3 separate regions of the Homo sapiens genome follow, and regions 2 and 3 are each linked to region 1. Evidence: promoter capture Hi-C in 16 types of primary human blood cells and fetal thymus (Javierre and others, 2016). All regions are on one chromosome and are shown on one strand. The core of a region is centred on a gene start or on the middle of the fragment in contact, and the rest is flanking DNA. Distances in the headings are between cores, read along the strand shown.

Region 1 (4,206 bases), core at 438-2,937:
CCCAGCCTGGGTGACAAAGTGAGAGTGTCTCAAACAAGAAACAAACAAAAAAATTAGCCAGGTGTGGTAATGCACACATGTGGTCCTGGGTGCTTGGGAGGCTGAGGTGGAAGGATAGCTTGAGCCTGGGTGATTGAGGCTGCAGTGAGCCGATTGTGCCATTGTACTCCAGCCTGGGTGACGGCGAGACCTTGTCTAAAAAAGAAAAAACACACAAAAAATAAAAAACAAATGTGGCTTATGTTTGTGGCTTGAATTATAGTTCTATTGTACAATGGTAGTCTAGTTCAACTTCTTGAACAGACGAGAACGCTGGGGTCCGGAGAGAAGCCCTGACTTAGCGGATGGCACACACTATAAAGCACTGTCATTTGCAGTCCCACCAGTCTCTCAGTACCCACCCCCACTCTGCCACACACACCCCTGGGAGTCTTAGGTGTGAAATGGGTGGACTCACAGACCCCTGGGCTGCATACCTCAAAGTGTTCCAACACTCAAGGCACTGCCTGTGGTTTTTTGGGAGTGAAATAAAAACCTAACAATGGTGGGGTCACAGTCTCCAGTAGGTCACATTTTAAAAGCACTTTAGGCTCTGGAGACTTGGGGTGTGGGGAGAAGTGAAGAGAAAGCTGGGGAGCCCTGGGCCTTCCCCCATTTCTTCATATGCAGAATAATCCAGATTAGTTTACCAAGCGCGCTGATAACCACTTTAAAAACAGAGTCCCTCCTGCCTCCCCGTGGCATGGGGTAGAACCTGGCTTGAGCCCCGACACAGGCGGGCAGCCACTCCAGGATCGTTCCACACGTAAACAAAGACGAGTTTCGGTCCGATTGGCTTGATCCTGGAAGAGGAGTGGGCAGTGGAGGGAGGGGAAACCAGGCACCAAAGCAAATTCCTTCATTTCATAATTTCATCTGGCGCCCCCGTTCAATCAGCCTGCATTGTCGAGGCTTTAGGAGAGGCAGTTAGGAAAGGAGAGATACTGATCTCTCAGCCCCAGGGCAGCACTAATGGTGCCTGTCTAGACTCTGACAGGTGGAGCTGCTGAGCTAACTACGGACCTGGTGGGGGAAGTTTTCCTTGGCTTTCACGTGGCTTTGGCTGGGGAGCCCTGAGAAGGTGGCTGCCTCCTTTTTCTGAAGCCTGGCTTCCCATACGGCAGTGGCTGGGGGAGAGTGATGGAGAGAAAGGCTAAGCTAAGGTCAAAGAAAGTGGAGGAAGGCTGGCTTGTCCCGCTGGACTTGACGGCGGAGCTGCTGCAATCTCGCGGGCTGGGCCCTTGCCCCGGGTGGACCCGAGTGCCTGCGGGGAGGCGGGTGTGGCTCCCCCGGGAGGTGACAGCTGGCGGGGCCCGTAAGGAGCTGGTCTGCTCCGGCTCCCCTCTCGTAGCCGGCGCCCTGGGACCAGCGCGTGAGCACGTCTCGGAGGAGTCCGATGCGCTGGGCAGGGCCGGGTGGTCACCCCCGCCCAGCTTCCAGGGGTGACTGTGCCTCTGACGTCAGACGGTTTTTGGGTCATTCCCTGGCACGGGGACTTTATTTTCATAACAGCATGAAGTGCCGTGGAACTGGAATAGGCGTGTCCTCTCCCTCGACCCTCCCCCTCCTTGTCCCTCTGCTCACCCCTCGCTCGTTCCCTCCCTCCGGCGAGGGCCGCCTTTATAACAACTGCTCAGAGTGCGAGGGCGGGATAGCTGTCCAAGGTCTCCCCCAGCACTGAGGAGCTCGCCTGCTGCCCTCTTGCGCGCGGGAAGCAGCACCAAGTTCACGGCCAACGCCTTGGCACTAGGGTAAGTGAGGCGCCAGGAGCCCAGAGCGCTGGGGCCTCCGGATTTAAATCGTCTGGGGAGAGCGGGGCGTTGGGAGGGGTGGGATAGAAGAGGAGAGAAATCCTGGTAATGGAATACAGTTGGCTATGAGAAAAAAATTCCCTAGGAAACAGTTCCTCTAGTTTAACAACTCAGATTTTTTTTTTTTTTTTTCCCCTTTGCGGGTTTCCTAGGCTAAGATAGAGGCAGAGAGCAAAGAGATAATCAGGGTAATAGTTTCTGCTCGGACACATTCTACAAACTTTGAGTAGATGGAATCCGGCCAGGCAGGAGGTGAGCAGCTCTGGGATCACTCTGCAGGAAAAGAATAGAGGGAGAAAGATCTCAGAGGACCCGAAGGTACTGGGAGTGGAGGGGGAGTGGGAAACAAGGGGCAGGGGCAGGAGGGAGGACACGGTGACAGCTACTATTTTACCCAGATGCTGCAAAAAGCCCTTCTGAGTTTTGGGAATTAGATCTAGAAGCCCATCCCTTTTCTCTTGATGTGTGGGCGGTCAGTTCCACTCTGGTGTGCCTTGAGTTGCTCAGAAACCTGGGACAGATGAAAGTTGAATGTGCGCTGAGAGTGCACCTTCCACTACCGACTTTATGGATAGGATTTGGGAATAGCATAGATGCTGTTCCATCTGGTCCCTTAAACATCCATGGGGAAGGCTGGCAAATAGCTTTATTTTATTTTTTGAGATGGAGTTTCACTCTTGTTGCCCAGGCTGGAGTACAATGTTGCGATCTCAGCTCACCGCGACCTCCACCTCCCGGGTTCAAGCGATTCTCCTGCCTCAGACTCCCGAGTAGCTGGGATTACAGGCATGCACCACCACTCCTGGTTAATTTTGTATTTTTAGTAGAGACGGGGTTTCCCCATGTTGGTCAGGTTGGTCTCAAACTCCCGACCTAAGGTGATCTGCCCGCCTCAGCCTCCCAAAGTGCTGGGATTACAGGTGTGAGCCCCCGCGCCCGGCCACAGATAGCTTTAAACATCCATGGGAAAGGCTAGCTAACAGCTGAAACCTGCTCAGAATCAAGGAATTTGAAGGACTTTCCATTCCTGACTTCTTTCCATTCCTGATTGTCTCCTCAGAGGCTTGTGTAAACACCACACCTGTTGAAGGGTTCGGCCGAATCAGCCACTGCTGTGGGTTCATTCCTGAAGGGGAACACTTCAGCTACTTCAGACACAATGGGCTAGGGACCACGGGAGGGGTGAGGGCGGAGGGGGCACACACCCTCCAGGTTTGCATGCCGGTGTCTGCTAGGTGAGGGAAGGAATGAGGGGAAGGAAGGGCCGGGAGAGGCGCTACGTGGGAAACAAGGGACCTCTCCAAGGGCGTGGAGAGGTGAGTGCCTCAAGGGCAGAATGGAATGAGCAGAACCCTTTGGTTTCCCGGGAAGAGCTCTCAACCTTGAGTCAGGAAGACTGATTTCTCCTCCCAGCTCCGCAGGAACATGGAACTGTGATCAGGCAAGGGGCTGGGCCTGAGTTCCTCATAGGGGTCTTGGGGAGGCCCCCAGTTTCCCCTCCTGTGTTTCGATTCTGGCCCCTCTCCATCTGCACACGTCGCCTTGGAAGTTCCCTTTAGAACTGGCTTTTTTGTATTCTAGTCTTGAATGGTAATCGAAGACAACAGGGTATGAAGAACAATTTTGACGGCGTGATTTTATTCTTCTCATTCTGGGTCCACTACTATTTAAAGTCCCAAGATTAAGCTGAGGAATTAATATGGTGGTATAGTAAACAATAAATTGAGGAGTATTTTTGCTTGAGGAATCTTTGACTTCCTGAGTAGTTCAGGGTGTTTGCTTCTTTTATTCTCATTTTTATTGCACTGTGGTCAGACTATATGGTCTGCACATTTCTTATTTTCTAATTCCAGATTTGTCTTTGTATTCTAAATATGCTCATTTTTGGCAAATGTTCCATTTGGACCATGGACCATAGTTCCTATTAAGCAATCATAATAGAGTAGAGATGGCAAACTATGGTCCATGGACCAAATATGGCCTATAGCCTCTTTCTGTAAATAAAGTGATTTTTGTTTTGTTTTGTTTTGTTTTTGTTTTCGTTTTTTTGAGATGGAGTCTCGCTCTTGCCCAGGCTGGAGCGCAGTGACGTGATCTCGGCTCACTGAAACCTCTGCCTCCCGGTTTCAAGGTTTCAAGCCATTCTCCTGCCTCAGGCTCCCAAGTAGCTGGGATTACAGGCGCCCGCTACCACGCCTGGGTAATTTTTGTATTTTTAGTAGAGACAGGGTTTCACCATGTTGGCCAGACTGGTCTCAAACTCCTGACCTCAGGTGATCTGCCTGCCTCGGCCTCCCAAAGTGCTGGGATCATAGGCATGAGCCACAACCTGTAATCCACTATTTTACTAAAACAC
Region 2 (4,339 bases), core at 57-2,556, 320 kb after region 1:
GGATTGCTGCTTAGGTTAAGAACCCTCATCTGCTTCATTGTTCAAAACCAGTGCTCCTGGGTAGCTACCAAGTGGCAGTGCATATCTGTTAGTAGCACGTGTGTACAAGACACTTCAAGAAGGCAGAAAGGTAGGAGTTCTCAGAAAGATGAAACCACTGCCACAATGCACATCATTATTGTGATTCTCACTTAATTGTTGTTCTTTCCCAATATACTCGGTTTGGTGGAAGGACATGCTCTTTTGCATCCCTGAGTAGCTTTCCTAGACCCACAAGGGCCAGACAGGACAGCTGGGTGGTAGGCATGAGGTTCTGTGTTTTACATCACAGCGTGGCCACACAAACCAGTGCAGACATGAGAGCCCAGACACCTCTAATTTATCAACATACCGTCGAGCTTGGCCCAGGGGACATCCATCAGAACTCCTGTTTAGGGACAAACAAGCAGAATTCATTTTCCTATTGCTAATGAGGGAAATAGGATCTTCTTAAAATTAGTAAAACTTTTTCTCGACTTTAATGTAAGAAAACACACCGACAAATCTCCTTTTCCCCTGCAGGGCTGTGCATTCTTGTGGGGGTGTCCATCTACACTAGTCATTATGCGAATCGTGATGGAACGCAGTATCACCACGGCTATTCCTACATCCTGGGCTGGATCTGCTTCTGCTTCAGCTTCATCATCGGCGTTCTCTATCTGGTCCTGAGAAAGAAATAAGGCCGGACGAGTTCATGGGGATCTGGGGGGTGGGGAGGAGGAAGCCGTTGAATCTGGGAGGGAAGTGGAGGTTGCTGTACAGGAAAAACCGAGATAGGGGAGGGGGGAGGGGGAAGCAAAGGGGGGAGGTCAAATCCCAAACCATTACTGAGGGGATTCTCTACTGCCAAGCCCCTGCCCTGGGGAGAAAGTAGTTGGCTAGTACTTTGATGCTCCCTTGATGGGGTCCAGAGAGCCTCCCTGCAGCCACCAGACTTGGCCTCCAGCTGTTCTTAGTGACACACACTGTCTGGGGCCCCATCAGCTGCCACAACACCAGCCCCACTTCTGGGTCATGCACTGAGGTCCACAGACCTACTGCACTGAGTTAAAATAGCGGTACAAGTTCTGGCAAGAGCAGATACTGTCTTTGTGCTGAATACGCTAAGCCTGGAAGCCATCCTGCCCTTCTGACCCAAAGCAAAACATCACATTCCAGTCTGAAGTGCCTACTGGGGGGCTTTGGCCTGTGAGCCATTGTCCCTCTTTGGAACAGATATTTAGCTCTGTGGAATTCAGTGACAAAATGGGAGGAGGAAAGAGAGTTTGTAAGGTCATGCTGGTGGGTTAGCTAAACCAAGAAGGAGACCTTTTCACAATGGAAAACCTGGGGGATGGTCAGAGCCCAGTCGAGACCTCACACACGGCTGTCCCTCATGGAGACCTCATGCCATGGTCTTTGCTAGGCCTCTTGCTGAAAGCCAAGGCAGCTCTTCTGGAGTTTCTCTAAAGTCACTAGTGAACAATTCGGTGGTAAAAGTACCACACAAACTATGGGATCCAAGGGGCAGTCTTGCAACAGTGCCATGTTAGGGTTATGTTTTTAGGATTCCCCTCAATGCAGTCAGTGTTTCTTTTAAGTATACAACAGGAGAGAGATGGACATGGCTCATTGTAGCACAATCCTATTACTCTTCCTCTAACATTTTTGAGGAAGTTTTGTCTAATTATCAATATTGAGGATCAGGGCTCCTAGGCTCAGTGGTAGCTCTGGCTTAGACACCACCTGGAGTGATCACCTCTTGGGGACCCTGCCTATCCCACTTCACAGGTGAGGCATGGCAATTCTGGAAGCTGATTAAAACACACATAAACCAAAACCAAACAACAGGCCCTTGGGTGAAAGGTGCTATATAATTGTGAAGTATTAAGCCTACCGTATTTCAGCCATGATAAGAACAGAGTGCCTGCATTCCCAGGAAAATACGAAAATCCCATGAGATAAATAAAAATATAGGTGATGGGCAGATCTTTTCTTTAAAATAAAAAAGCAAAAACTCTTGTGGTACCTAGTCAGATGGTAGACGAGCTGTCTGCTGCCGCAGGAGCACCTCTATACAGGACTTAGAAGTAGTATGTTATTCCTGGTTAAGCAGGCATTGCTTTGCCCTGGAGCAGCTATTTTAAGCCATCTCAGATTCTGTCTAAAGGGGTTTTTTGGGAAGACGTTTTCTTTATCGCCCTGAGAAGATCTACCCCAGGGAGAATCTGAGACATCTTGCCTACTTTTCTTTATTAGCTTTCTCCTCATCCATTTCTTTTATACCTTTCCTTTTTGGGGAGTTGTTATGCCATGATTTTTGGTATTTATGTAAAAGGATTATTACTAATTCTATTTCTCTATGTTTATTCTAGTTAAGGAAATGTTGAGGGCAAGCCACCAAATTACCTAGGCTGAGGTTAGAGAGATTGGCCAGCAAAAACTGTGGGAAGATGAACTTTGTCATTATGATTTCATTATCACATGATTATAGAAGGCTGTCTTAGTGCAAAAAACATACTTACATTTCAGACATATCCAAAGGGAATACTCACATTTTGTTAAGAAGTTGAACTATGACTGGAGTAAACCATGTATTCCCTTATCTTTTACTTTTTTTCTGTGACATTTATGTCTCATGTAATTTGCATTACTCTGGTGGATTGTTCTAGTACTGTATTGGGCTTCTTCGTTAATAGATTATTTCATATACTATAATTGTAAATATTTTGATACAAATGTTTATAACTCTAGGGATATAAAAACAGATTCTGATTCCCTTCATTGTGTGAATGTTTTTTTCTAAAAAAAATGTGGAGAAATATGGATAATTATGACATTTATCCCTCATTAAGCTGCCTATCAGTTTGATTTGGACAACTTGACATTTATTTGAGACATTAAGCTACTTTCTGGTAATATATTAGGCATTTCTGCAATAGCTCTTTCAGGTAACTGAATATTATTAAGCATAGTTTTATCTTGCTTTGATTAAACCTCTTAGGCAAAAAATGGAACTTCATAAGCTAATACATTAGAAAGGGGTTATGATTATAAATCAGAAATGCTTGTGACATTAAGAAATGAGGCACTTGTGAAATTTCTTTGAAATAGCCAGCTCCTCTAATGTGTCTTCAAAATATAAAGTGATTCACAAAGGCATGCATCACACCTATTTGTAGCAGCCCATTCATTACATAAACCAGGGCATACCTGTGTGGGCTCTGTGAGTGAAGGGAGGCTTCACTACTTTCTGTGAGCAGTAAGGACTGGTATCTTTCTGTGAGCAATAAGGACTGGATAAAGACTGCATATCCTTGTGTCGTGTCAGCACCAATACAATAAGGAGGGTTTTAATGTGAAGCAGGCAATCTTCCAGCCCCTTCTGGTCTTGGATGAAATAGTTGCACAGAGTATTGCACCAAAAATACACAATGGAGGCTGAAAAGTTCAACATATTTTAAGTCAATTAATCAAATTGCATTGATTCTTGATGCTTTCTTAGAGGCCTACATGATTTCTTAGATTGCTCTGATAAACTATCATAAGGGGTCCACCTCCCCTCATTTAGCTCCCCCAGGGATTTCTTTTCCCCCATGTCATACACCCAGTCCTAAATCAACCCCCAAGGCTATCCTTCCATCCCTTCTGCAGAGGGAACTTTTGTCAGACTCTGCAACAAACTCCTAGCTCTATCCAGAGTGTCCTCTGCTGCTAAGATTGGTATCTTTCTCCTCAAAAGCCTGGATGGTGAATGGGGGTGCATTAGTCAGAATTCTCCAGAGAAACAGAAAAAATAAGATTCGCGTGTGTGTGCAAACATATATATAAATAAATAAAAATATATTTATTTTAAGGAATTGACTCACATGATTTTGAAGGCAGGCAAGCCCAAAGTCTGCAAGGGGTGGGCCAGCAGAGAGCTGGTGCTACAGTGCGGGTCTGAAAGTTGCCAGAGTCCCTTTTATAGAGAAGCTTAAAAAATATTTGTTGAATTAAATGTCTTAGGTAGAGACAAATTGAATTAAAGTGGTTAAGTAAATACTCTTAGGTGAAATTTGTGCAAATTATGAGTATAAAGAGGGTGAGCTACAGAACTCTCCATGACCACTCAAGAATGGGACCCAAAGGCAAATGATAACTTATTCATTCATCAAGGGATAAACTTGAGTTATCAAATGGTTAATAGATAAAGATCCCACTCTGCCTTGGATTTAGCCATCGCAGTCCCTGTGTAAAACCCCACCGGCTTTCAGGCATGGAAAAAAATTTCACAAAGGCCTTGAAAGAAGGCATATGAAGACCAAAAGGATATTGAGCA
Region 3 (4,617 bases), core at 223-2,722, 350 kb after region 1:
CAGGTCCCAACAACCCAACCTTCATCAGAGACCCAACCTCCATCAGAGACCCAACCTCCGTCAGAGATCCTACCACCATAGAGACTGGTAGGAGTTTCATGGTAGGCGTTAAGCATGAGCCTGTCTCTGGGTCTGTGTCTCTATTTCTGGGTGAAGGAATATATATATATATATTCTCTTGGGCACATCCTACTTAAAAAAAGGAGATTAACCATATTACATCCCTGACTTGCACCATGTGGCTTAATAAGCAAGACATGTCATAAAGTTAACAGTTAGTTCTATGGCTTATAGCAGTGTAAACTAAATACCTGAGTGTAGTTTCTAGAGTAATTAGAGTCTGGTGGGATTGGGACAGGTTTCCACATTCCCTAGGGTTTCTGAATAATCCTAGGCCAAGCTTGGATCTTAAGTACTTTCTTTACTTTTTTTTTTTTTTGAGACAGCAGCTCACTCTGTCACCCAGGCTGGAATTCAGTGACACCATCACGGCTCACTGCAGCCTTGACCTTCTTGGCTCTATCGATCCTCCCACCTCAGCCTCCCGGGTAGCTGGGACTACCGGTGTACACCATCATGCCCAGCTAATTTGTTGTATTTTTTGTAGAGATGGGTTTTGCCATGTTGCTCAGGCTTGTCTTGAACTCCTGGGCTCAAGCAATCCACCTGCCTAGGCCTCCCAGAGTGCTGGGATTACATGTGTGAGCCACTGTGCCTGGCCTGATCTTAGGTATTTTGAAGACCAATTAACTGGGGTTTCTTCTTGACTGTCCAGGGATACTTTTTGTTTACTACTGATCTGTCAGAGACCTTGAAAATCATCCCTGGCCAAGGCTCAGAGGTTTCTTAAGGGGCCAGCTAGAGCTTGGCATTATCAAGGCTTGCCATGAAGAGAAAATGCCCCCAAGACCCACCCAGGGTCAGATCTTTCATGCTCATGTGAACTTGTAGAATAATTATTCCAAAGTCCCAGCCACTACCCAGAAAGCAGTATATAGTTAATACGTTCCTGGCAAATATAAGTCCCTCTGCATGGCTCTGCAATTTAGACTACCACTCATGAGAATAACACCAAGGCCTAGACCAACAGCATTGTGTATGTACCCTGGAAAATACTTCAGATCTCATTGATTCATCTCCCAACCAGATCAAGTATGTGAGATAAACAGCCAGTTCCATGGGATATGGTTGCTTTGTTTTATTTGAGATTGTGTTTCAAACACACCACCTACCAGTACTACTACCAGTGCTGGAATATTTGGGGTACCCATTCCTAGGCTATATGTGAGCCAAGTTCAACAGATTGTATGATTCCCCACCAAGTTCAGAGGAAGGGTTGCCCACCAGGTACTCGCCGGTCTGAGCTAAGCAACTGCAGAATGAGGGAAACACACTTAACAGATGAGGCTGTGAATGCCGGTGCTGATGTCCTCTGTTCTAAGAGCAAATGATGTCTTCCATAATATGGATGCAGTCATGGCCAAATGTATATTCAGCAGTATGTTCCTCCCATCGCTGCTCTGGGGAGATAACGGATAATGCTATTCCTCCAGTAGTGTGAAGTGAGAGGGGGTCAAGAAAACATTTTCAGTTTAGAGCAACGGGGCGTGAGATGCATCCAATCTTATGCAATCCTAAGTCCCTGGGCACGAATGGAATTTGTAACCAGCAAAGAAATTCTTTATAATAATTTAATTTGTATGTGAGATTGAGCTTGTGAGAGTGAGTGACAGAGAGGTAGAGGGGAAAAGACAGAGGGAATGAGAGGGGAGAAAGACAATGAAAAAGATGAATGAGAATGAATAATGGGAGGCAAAGATAAAGGAAAAGCAATATAAAGCAGAGAGGGGAGAGAAAAGAAGTAATAACTTCTGATAATTGCGGAAATATATCACAAACATAATTGTATAAAAGGAGGGATTTAGATAGTGAACAGGAAAGTTGAGAGCATGGCTGAAGGTAGAAGAAAGAAGGAAGAAATGAATAACAGGAAAACAAAGAGAGAAAAAAAAGGAAAACATTTCAAGGAATAGGTAGGAAACAAGATGTGCCTTGGGAATTTCAATGAATTATTTTGTCTCCCAAGTTTTAAACTTACAATGTGTTCTGCCATGACGGTCTAATTCTCAATTAAGATATGCTAATAAGGCTGACCGCATACCATATACTCGCCATGCCTGATAAGCAGTTTAGCTTCTTTTTGGGTTTGGTGGGAGAGCAGTTATGTTTCCACACTGAAGTTTCTCATTGGCTTTCCTCCTACAAAGGCGCAAAATGACCACATGTTGTTCTTACTAATATTTGTTTTAGTCTGACACACTTCGATCTCTGCCGAGTTGACTACTAACTGCTTCGTACACACTTCGTATTCCTCCACCTGCTTTCAGTTACCTTCATTAAAAATATTCACATAAATCTTTATTAATAGAGAAAAATGGATTCACTCTGGTTTATTTATCTGTGGGTAAGTTTAATTATTTTCCAGTATGCAAAGCATCTTAGGAGGCTGCAAACATGGCTCAGAAGTAACATTGCCAGAAAAGGGGAAGCTTGTGCCATAGAGTCAACTTGCTGACCTGCAAGTAACAGACAGTGAATGTTAGCTGAATGATGGTAATTGAGTGAAAATTTGGACTGCCCTTCAAGGGATGTTAGAAAGAGTATCAGAAAAGGGCAGGAAGACTTAACATATATAGTGACCAATTACTGAGCATCCAAGCATAGTGAAAATCACCGTGCATATATTATCACATTTCACAGAAGCAGAACCCATTCTTTTTCATATGCAAATTTCTCCTTAAAAATCTCTGTCCTATGATACTGTGGGAACTCTAGGCTACTTCTCGATGGCTTCTAGGCATCCCCAGGAAGTGCGTATATTCTCCTGAAATCATTGCCAAGGGCTTACTGCAGATTATCCCAGGTTTCTCCTGCTGGGCTCACCTTGCCTCTCCACAGTGCACCACAATTTCTGGTCCGCTCCATCTTAAGATGTCATTGTAGATCTTCCCTTTATTTCCAAAGCCAATGCAATCACAAAGATATGGAGAGTAGCAATGGTTAAGATTATAAGCTTTGCAGTCAAACTTCTTGAGTTCAAATCCAGGCTCTGAATCTTACTAGTTGTATGACCTTAAGTTACTTGTATGACCTCCTGTACCTCAGTTTTTTACTCAGTTTTTTTACCTCAGTGAAATGAGGCTGATAATAATACTTTTTTCCCTGGGTTGCCATGAAGATTAAATAAGTTAACTCATTCTGCGAGTTAATTTTTATGTGAGATTGAGCCCGTGAGAATGAGTGACAGAGAGGTAGAGGGAAAAAAATGGAGGGAGTGAGAGAGGAGAAAGTGGGAAAGACAATGGAAAAGATAAATGAGAATGAATAATGGGAGGTAGAGATAAAGGAAAAGCAATAGAAAGCAGAGAAGTTAATTCATTAAAATACATAGAGCACTTTGAAGAATGCTTGCTATGTTGTAAGTACTTAATAAAGTTCGTTATTAGTGACAGGTTGTAAGGGTTAGGAAATTTTTTACTGAACACATGCATTTCTTAGGTTATAAAAAAGTATAGCTTTGAGGAGAAACAATGTGAAATTGGAAAACAGATTCTGCTGCTGCTAGAATCCATTGGCCAGTCCCTAATGCAGTCTCCCAGGGTTGTCTCCCTCCTTAGTCTCTGCCATCTTGCTGGAGCCATACTCTTCCATAGTCCATGCATTCTTGTCTCCCATTATTCCCCACGTCTTGAATCACAACTCCTAGAGTCTCAAGGAAGCCAAAAACAAGTAAATAGCATGACAGTCTCTGCCCCCAAGGCCTACAACTCTTTCATTTTGCTGTTTAGAAGTCAGAGGTCTTTATGGTATTAATCCCTCCCCCTAGATTGGACACTGAGTCTTACATCTGCATAACCACAAGTCCCACTCAAGTGTTTCACAAATAAAATGACAGTCTTCGCCCCAAAGATGAATTCTCCTGGCATTCCTACGATAAGGATAGGGTTGTAGGGGGGTGGGAACCCCTCCAGAGGCTCAGGATTTGTCATTAGCATTGAACATACTAAAAACATATGCTTTGACTAAGGCAGGCTTGTTCTGAGCCCTTGAAGCATGTTTGGTGTTCTTGATGGCCATCATCTTGAAGAAAAACCTGAGGTGCTTCCAAAAATATTCTAGGCACTAAATTAGTGAAGACGTACACTTTGTGGCAATGAGTCTGCAACTGTTCCTTGAAAACATCTGATGAGGCTGGAAAATAAGGTAAATGATTATATATATATATGCTTCCCCTCGCTACAAAATATACTGCCATAATCATCCTGGCTTGTGTTTCCACCACTTTGCAGAAATAGTTTTTTTTGAAAACTGTCAGTGTTCTCCAAGATGCTGTGTCATGTGGCTTTTCTTAACCCACATCTCCCTTCTTGACTCTTTAGGATGTTTGGGATTATTGAAATTCAGTTTTTATTGGATCTCCTGGTCCTTCAGTCTCCTGATTTTCCTTGAACCTCTGTTGCTCCTTCTTAATATATATATATATATATTTTTTGGCCTTCTCTTCTTTCCCCTTTCCTTCAAGTGTTTTTATGGCCAAGGTTTTGTCCTGGACTTTTT

Evidence for each region. Contacts are between HindIII fragments. The CHiCAGO score rates a contact against its expected background, and 5 or more counts as called.
Region 2: a contact is called between a fragment that was not itself captured here and the fragment with the promoter of GPRC5A in region 1, in 5 of 17 cell types (total B cells, naive B cells, activated CD4 T cells and 2 more). The highest score is 7.2, in total B cells.
Region 3: a fragment that was not itself captured here is called in contact with the fragment with the promoter of GPRC5A in region 1 in 1 of 17 cell types (M2 macrophages); the score reaches 6.2 in M2 macrophages.

What each region holds. Positions count from the first base shown.
Region 1 is chr12:12,889,875-12,894,080 of GRCh38, forward strand. GPRC5A (G protein-coupled receptor class C group 5 member A) reads left to right here and starts at 1,688. Exons shown (of 4, transcript NM_003979.4): 1 at 1,688-1,790. The HindIII fragment of the contact is 15,074 bases long and covers 1-4,206 here.
Region 2 is chr12:13,213,973-13,218,311 of GRCh38, forward strand. It overlaps EMP1 (epithelial membrane protein 1), which reads left to right. Exons shown (of 5, transcript NM_001423.3): 5 at 562-4,339. The coding sequence ends at 719. Among named protein-coding and RNA genes, the nearest start is that of EMP1, 19 kb to the left of the region's middle. The HindIII fragment of the contact is 5,370 bases long and covers 1-3,991 here.
Region 3 is chr12:13,236,088-13,240,704 of GRCh38, forward strand. No RefSeq gene overlaps it. Among named protein-coding and RNA genes, the nearest start is that of EMP1, 42 kb to the left of the region's middle. The HindIII fragment of the contact is 2,149 bases long and covers 399-2,547 here.